2 separate regions of the Homo sapiens genome follow, and region 1 is linked to region 2. The links are contacts of gene promoters, found by promoter capture Hi-C in blood cells and fetal thymus (Javierre and others, 2016). All regions are on one chromosome and are shown on one strand. Each heading gives the region's core, a stretch centred on a gene start or on the middle of the fragment in contact. The rest is flanking DNA. Distances are from core to core; before and after follow the strand shown.

Region 1 (4,126 bases), core at 1,536-4,035, 310 kb before region 2:
AAACAAATACCACTGTGTTACAATTGCCCACAGTATTCAGCACAGTAACATGCTGAACAGATTCGTAGTCTAGAAGCAACAGGCCATATCATATGACCACACAGCCTAGGTGTGCAACACGTTATACCATCTAGTTTTGTTTAAGTGCACTCTGATGATGTTCACACAATGATGAAATCGCCCAATGACTCATTTCTCAGAATGCATCCCCATTGTTAAGTGACATATGAATATAAATGGCTTACTGGTAGGCACATACCTGCTTCGACTTTTGTCTACAGGAAAGATTCGAATAGATTTATCGAAACTAGCAGACACAAACTCCTTCCCAGTGGGAGAGTAATCCACATCAAGCACTGCAGATACATGATCCATATGGACCATTACAGGAGTGTCCAGTGCACGCATATCAAAAGTATATAAGCTGTAAAAGAATTTTTAAATATTTGACACATATTTCTAGAAAGATGCCATATGCAGTACTAAAAGATACCACTGAAAACAAGAACCATTTGCAAAACAATGCACATCTAAACAAAAAGCTCAATGCTGTACACAAGCAGGTGAGGGATAAGGAAAAATTTCAACAGTTTTTATGATTCCTTAAGACTCCACTTATATATATACCAACACATTTTCCACCCTATAAATCTCATTGTAGAAAATGTGGAAATTTCAAAAAAAGTAGAGTACAAAAATTACCTTGAATTCTACTACCCAGAGGCCAGTTATTTAGTACAGCATAATTTTTTAAAAAACCTTTTTCACCATACTATTTAAATACATACTTTTAATAAAATTGAAATGTTATGTAAAGCTTTATATTCTGATATTTCACGTAGCATATTAATGAGCATTACCCATGTTATTAAACAATCTTTGAAAATATTTTAATGGCTGTATATATAAGTTCAAATAATTTATTTCCCTATATTTTAATAGTTTCCAACATTTTATTATATATAATGCTTATTAAATTCCCAACGTTTGGATTTTTAACATTCAATCTTTAACTGAATGGGACAGGTTCAATTAAATCTGGACAGATTCCTACAAGTAGCATTGTTAAGCTTAAAGGCATGAGCATTTTTAGGCTTGATTTGAGTTGCCAAATCACTGCCAACAAAGTTGCACTAATTTATACTCCTACTGGTGATATGTAAGAGTGAACATGGCCTTTCAAAGGGTGAATCAAAATGAGAAACTATACTTTATGCACAATTGGTAAAAACAATGACTTCATGAGTTTCAAGATTCAAAAATTCTTAATCTAATGGCTAAAAGAATAGTGCTTCAAATGAACCAACATGAACAATGGACAAAAGTAATACAGCAATATTGTGACCAAGTTCCTAATATAAAAATACTTGAAGATGCTAAGATTAGTGAGTAGAAGTCTGAGAAGAGGATATCTACATAGTTTCAAAGTATCTCCCCAAAGATATATAATAATTACAAAAGGAAAAAAAAGTAACTCTTTAGTGGAGAAACCTGGCAGACACCACCCTAACCAAATGATCAAGGTTAACATTACTAGTAGTAAGACATTGACAACTGCTTTACAGTTCCTGCCTAAGAACAGTGGTTTTCAGCTAGGTTTGCTTGGTTCCAGCAAACTGCTTTTTAGTAAGATGCTTTATTTCTACATGGGAAAAATGATAAGAATTCCAATTCTAAGCATATCAATTTGTGTACATGGAAAACCTTTAAATAAACAAAGTTCCACATTATAGGATTCATTAGGGATCATCTATTCTAACCCTCACCTTACAGATGCTGAAACTATGATATAGAGTTAGTTTAAATGACTTGCCCAAGTTTATACAGTAATTACTGGTCGGCCTAGACTTGAACTTAGGTTTCTAATTCAGAATGACTAGAATATCTAAAGGGCAATAAAAGAAAAAAATACTTACAAATATAGAAAAGGGATACAAAAGCAAGATCATTTTCAAAGAGCAATTATGATACTCCAACAGTCACTTATTATAAGGGATATGCTCTTTGTTTCAGGTGGCATATGCAATTCTTTTCAAGGCAAGGAATGAGAAATTCCGAGGACACTCTGAAAAACGGTACCTTGCTAAAATAGCTTATTAGAACATTCTTTAGAAATCTTAATGAGGTTGGTCACAATAATGCTGTATTACTCTTGTCTTTTATTGCCTTTAACTGGAACAATGCCACTTAATTTCAAAACATCAATAAAGGTTAAAAAAAAAAGCTTCAATTACTGTGGTTTGGTATTGCTAGTTAATGAGAGTCTAACTGAGCTTCTTTTATTTTTTTAAGACACCAGGGTCTTGTTCTGTTGGCCAGGCTGGAGTGCAGTGGCCCAATTACAACTCACTGTAACCTCAAACTCCTGGACTAAACCTCTTTTTAGCAGAAAGTCATAAAAGATGCTTTTAGTTGGTACCACTAAAACATCATATAATAAATCCTTTTATGAGCTAACACTACTACTTTTTTGCTTCCAAATCTACATAGTGGAACATAAAACAATACAAAGATCTAAAGTTCAATCCACCAACAAACTTCTGCCTTCTTAAAAAAAACATGTATTAAGAATCTATCAAAGGCATAGCGCTATAATAAATGCTTTGGGAAAAAAAAAGATAAGATACTCTTTCCTCCCTGGGAGACTAATCTCCCCGCTTTAATATCTTAAAAAGGGGATAACATGCATGTCCCACCTACCTCATATGGATACTGAAAAGATAACTATAATTTTTCTTCCATCTGACTGAACAGTGATAGCTGATAACATGACCACATGAGCATCAGCTACCTGATACTCACCGCAATACAAACATTGCAGGCAGATATTTTCATTTCCATTAAAACATGTATGGTTCAGTCATTATTTATAAGACCTACATCAAACATCAGCCAACTTCTTCTGTAAAGGGCCAAATGTTAAACATTTTCAGGCAAGTGGGCCATAAGGTCTCCGCTGCAACTATTCAACTCAGGCATTATAGCACAAAAGCAGCCATATCCAATATCTAAATAAGTAAGTGGGTGTGGCCATATTCCAATAAAACTTTATAAAAAACAGGCAACAGAAAGGATTTGGTCCACGAGTTGTTTACTGTCCCTGGTCTACATCATTCTAAATACTGACGAAATAAATACTTTTCTAAGAAGTTCTTCTCCAATTTGGAAAACTTTTTAAAGCTAAACAGATGACAGTTTTCAAACTTTATAGGTATACCTACCTAGTGGTATATATTTTATTAGTACGACTTATACAATTAAGCCATTCATGATAGAAATACACAAGTTTTTAAAAGAGGGAAACTTACTTATAATCTTCATTTGCTGCTGTAAAAATGAAAGCTTCCATAGGGTTCCAACAGATTGTATTTGTTCTCATATCTAAGATAACCTGAGAAAGGAAGAATGGATGAATTTCCCACTTCCTTTCCTTTTCTTTTCCCCACTGATTTAAGCAAATATTTCATAAACACCTATTATGTGTAAAGTACTCAGCTCAGTGCAATGGGAAGAGAAATCAATCAGTAATTGCTTCTTAAATACACAGGCAGAATAGTAAATATAAAAATAGAAATGCTTAACTCCCAGTCTCCTAATCTCAAACAACTTACAGTTTAGTCAGAAAAATGTGACACATAATAAAAGTTAAAATATAAACAATAAAGTAACAAATGACTAAGTATCAAATTAGGGGCAAAATTAATGGTGAGCTTAGGGTTAACATAAAGAACTGTTTCTAAAGACAAGTATGATTTGAACTGACCTGTGAAGGATCAGTAATTCAGTGTTTCTCAATGGGAACACTGTTGGCATTTTGAGCAGGATTATCTTTTGTTGTGTATGACTATCCACTGTAGGATGTTTTGCCACTCAGGGACCTCCCACTACATGTCCCTCTTGCATTCCCAGAACTGTACCTGGTAGGGGACTACAATCCCTGACTAAGAACTACTACATTTATGAGAGAAAGGATAAAAGAAACATTGATAGACTAGTAGATGGAGCAAAGAAGCAACAGAAAGTAGCAGTGTCTAACAATCCCTACATCTATCAAAGTGACCTGCATGTGACAAACTCCAATTCAATGTTACCTAACTGACTAAAAGAAATAAATGAGTTGCAAATT
Region 2 (3,851 bases), core at 755-3,254:
AACAAAGAACTGGACAAAGTTACAAACAAAGGAAGGAAAGAATGAAGCAACAAAAGCAGAGATTTATTGAAAATGAGGTGGGAGTGGCCCCGAGCATAGGGGCTCAAGAGCCCTGTTACAGAATTTTCTGGGGTTTAAATACCCTCTAGAGGTTTCCATTGGTTACTTGGTGTACGCCCTGTGTAAATGAAGAGGATCAAGTAAAGTTACAAAGACATTTACTGGGTTTACGCCTTGTGTCAATGGTGAGGATATTTCCTGTAATAGCTGAAGTATTTCCATTTGATTTAGTTCTAGGAAGTCAGCATGAATCAGTCTTATGTTCCCTGCCTCCAGACCGTATTCTCCTGTCTCACCCCGGGCAGACGTGGGGAGCTGCTGGCTGGTCGGCTGGTCAGCTGGTCAGCTCCCCTGGGAACAGGGCCCATCCCAATTCCCACCAGGTGTAGCCAGGGTGGTGAAGTCAAGTGGGACAACGTGAGGGCCTGTGCTTAAGGCCCCGTTTCCTCGGAAGGGGTTTGGGGCACTCAGGCATCAGGTACTGTACCTCCTGCCCAGGGATCCCAGAGCTGCCTAGAGGAATTTGAGCAGGCTGGAATTCCTGCTGAGCAAGCAAGGCCAGAGTCACAGAGACCCTCTTAAAGTGACCTTGCTTTTAGATGTAAGCCGATTCAGTCTAGGGGGAAAAAATGACCACATGGAACCACTTATAAGGCTCTCTAGCTTAAAAAAAAAAATTATACACCTTAGCTCACCAAAGTCTCCAGGAAGTAGACATTATCAGCAGCATTCCCATTTGACGAATGAGAAGACAAGCTTACAGAGGTTACCTGAATTGCGAGGATCACACAGCTAGTCAGCAAGGGAGCTGAGACTCAAACCTGCGTCTTCAGATTCTGGTTTGCGCCTCCTTCTGACTGCACAGCCCTGCAGGCTCCAGAACATCTCCCTTGCCGGCTCTGCTTCCTTTCCTCAGCTGTTGAATGGTGATGCTCCCAAGGCCGTCCGTTAGGGCCTGCATTTCTCTCCCTCTCCACACTCTCTCTGGTTGTTCTCATTTACCTCCTTGCCTTGGCCTAATATCAAAAAGTCAGTGGCCCCTAGAACTCTCTCCAGCCCAGATCTTTCTCCTGAGTTCCATACCTATATATCTAATGCCTTACTGGACACCTCCACATGGCTGTCCAAGCCACCTCAAGTGCAGTGTTTCTGAAATGAAACTCATCTTTCTCTGTAAACTGCTTCTCCTTCTGTGTTCTCTGAGTAGCAGTGACTTCACTTCTGAAGCACAGACTATGTGTTAGTTATTTCACACATGCAAGAGCGGGGTATCATCGTCCCATTTTACAAAAGATAAAAGTAAGGCTTGGAGACGTTAACTTGCTTGCACAAGGCCATAGTACCAAGTCGTTGACAGAGCCAGAGTTCAAATCAAACTCTATTCTGCATTTCTCTCACTGGCACAGGCTGCCTGGAAACCATGGGGCCTCAGCTCTTCACTCTGTTGCACGAACCAGAAGTCATGGTTCATTCTTGACTCCTCCAACCCTCCCCACCCTCTTCCCACCCTCACCCACCCCAGCTTCTCACCCCCACAGCTGCCTCAGAGCTGAGTCAATCAGTTCTACCACCTAAATGCTTCGCAAGCTGTGCCTTCTCTCCATTCCTATTGTCACTTCCTTGGTTTAGCCCCTAAATTATGTCTCCCTCATTACCTGAAATAACTTCCTAACTAGTTTCTTTGTCTCTAGTAACAACCCCGCTTCAAGTCCTCTCTCCCTGTGAATGAGCTTTCTAAAATATACCCAATCATTGCATTCACCTGGTTAAGACCTCCAAAAGCTTCCACTACCTCCAGGATAAATCCCAAATTCCTGTTTCTGCTGATGCCTGTATATGCAGGTGATCCCTTGCTGGGTCTCTGAAATGGGTTCATCTCTTCAAGGTTTTTACTGAGACGATATAGTCCTCTTGTTGCACATTGCACTGATCCAGGCCATCTGTACTGTATTCCAATGAGCTACAGAAAAATGCTTGCGTGAGAGCCTTTCATATGCAAAAATAAAGACTGAATTATGCCATAACTATTGATAAGTCTACAGTAATCCATCATGCAATTGTTTACCCAATAGATTGTGTTTATATTGTCTTTGGTACCATGTAATTTGTAAATTTTCATGACAGTGTAACCAGTTAGGCCTAGGGTGGCAGGACTTAAGTGTTGCTGAATCATTTATTACTCCACACCTCATTGAAAAGTGCTTCATAAACTTTCTGAAACTGTTCAACAGACAGAGGGTAATTTGTGCTCTGCCAACAAAGGATTCTGTTGTTGAGTGCCTATCAGCATATTAAAGGTTCAGAGAAAACCAGCAATGCAGAAACTAGAGCAATTTTGTTCTCAGAAGATAGTTTTCTTCTGCACATCCATTCGTTAACATATTCTAAAAGAGTCTGCCCTCAACAGGAGTTTGGGGAAGCACTGGGATAGAGTGCAGAGGCCCTGAGGCTTCTGGAGTTTATCTGACTCTGACATCAGGATGCAAGCACAGACCTGCCACTCTCTCAGGAACATCTTTCGTTAACTCCCGTTTGTCTTTCAAGATTCAGTTCAGATGGCATTTCCTCCTAGTGCTCTTCCTCCCTCTCTGTCTGTCACACACTCACAGGTGCATATGCACCCACACATTTGTGACATGTATAATAATTGCATGGGATTTCCTAACACCCTCTTTCATAATACCTGTCTGTATTTTCTATTGGTTGATAGAAAATTCAGCCCAGACGGATGAGAGCCAACAGGAAATTTATAGGCATTGGAGGCACGCTGCTGCAGCAGCTCCAGCCTCACCCATCCCCACCCTGTCCCAGGTCCAAGTTCAGCAGGAAAGCAGGATTGTCTCATAGGTTTTGTGCCCTGCCTGAGGAAATTCCCCAGATTGTGAATCCCCAAAGGTAGACCAGGGTCTCTTATCCCATATCCAGCCCTTAGCACCTTCCTTGGCATGCCTTGTTTTCAACAAATAACAAATGGGGACACAAAATGTTCAAAGCAAGACTTCTACCTCGAAGGAGTTTATAGTCTAGTTCAAGAGTCACTATGTATAAACAGAATAGAAATACAATAGACCATACAAGGTAACATAAATGCCAAATGAGTGACTTGGGTATTAAGTATCAAAGGAATTCAAAGAAGGGACAGTTTTGGGAGTTGATAAATAAGACATAGATCCTGAACTAGAGAAACTGTTTCTAGTAGGAAAGAAAGGTATGTTACACAGAAAATGCCAATACAGACTGATAAGTATGGGGGCAGAGTGTTCATTACCATGTTCTGTTGGTTCTAGAAAGCTTTTCTTTTTCACTAAATGATTCAAATAATAGCAGCCTTATTTTTCTTGGTCTTATTTACTTTATTTTACTAATAAATTTTTCAAGATGAGAATAGGGGATTTCCTGTTTTGGTGTGTGACTCAGGACACAGGGCCCCACATCGCAGCCTGACACATAGCAGCCTGATTTCATTTCACTGCAGCATCACAGTTTTCCATAACTTCTCTTTTTTTTTTTTTTGACAGAATCCTGCACTGTCACCCGGGCTGGAGTGCAATGGCATGATCTCGGCTCACTACAATCTCCGCCTCCTGGGTTCAAGCGATTCTCCTGCCTCAGCCTCCCGAGTAGCTGGAATTACAGGTGCCCGCCACCATGCCTAGCTAATTTTTTGTATTTTTAGTAAAGATGGGGTTTCACTATGTTGGCCAGGCTGGTCTCGAACTCCTGACCTCATTACCCGCCCACCTCGGCCTCCCAAAGTGCTGGGATTACAGGCGTGAGCCACTGCACCCAGC

Evidence for each region. Contacts are between HindIII fragments. The CHiCAGO score rates a contact against its expected background, and 5 or more counts as called.
Region 1: a contact is called between a fragment that was not itself captured here and the fragment with the promoter of LINC01181 in region 2, in 6 of 17 cell types (endothelial precursors, megakaryocytes, M1 macrophages and 3 more). The highest score is 8.4, in endothelial precursors.

The regions. Positions count from the first base shown.
Region 1 is chr8:103,431,924-103,436,049 of GRCh38, reverse strand. DCAF13 (DDB1 and CUL4 associated factor 13) reads right to left here. Exons shown (of 11, transcript NM_015420.7): 7 at 3,309-3,391; 8 at 260-424. Among named protein-coding and RNA genes, the nearest start is that of DCAF13, 19 kb to the right of the region's middle. The HindIII fragment of the contact is 1,118 bases long and covers 2,227-3,344 here.
Region 2 is chr8:103,119,185-103,123,035 of GRCh38, reverse strand. LINC01181 (long intergenic non-protein coding RNA 1181) reads right to left here and starts at 2,004. Exons shown (of 6, transcript NR_145429.1): 1 at 1,823-2,004. RefSeq lists an enhancer at 466-967. The HindIII fragment of the contact is 1,509 bases long and covers 1,845-3,353 here.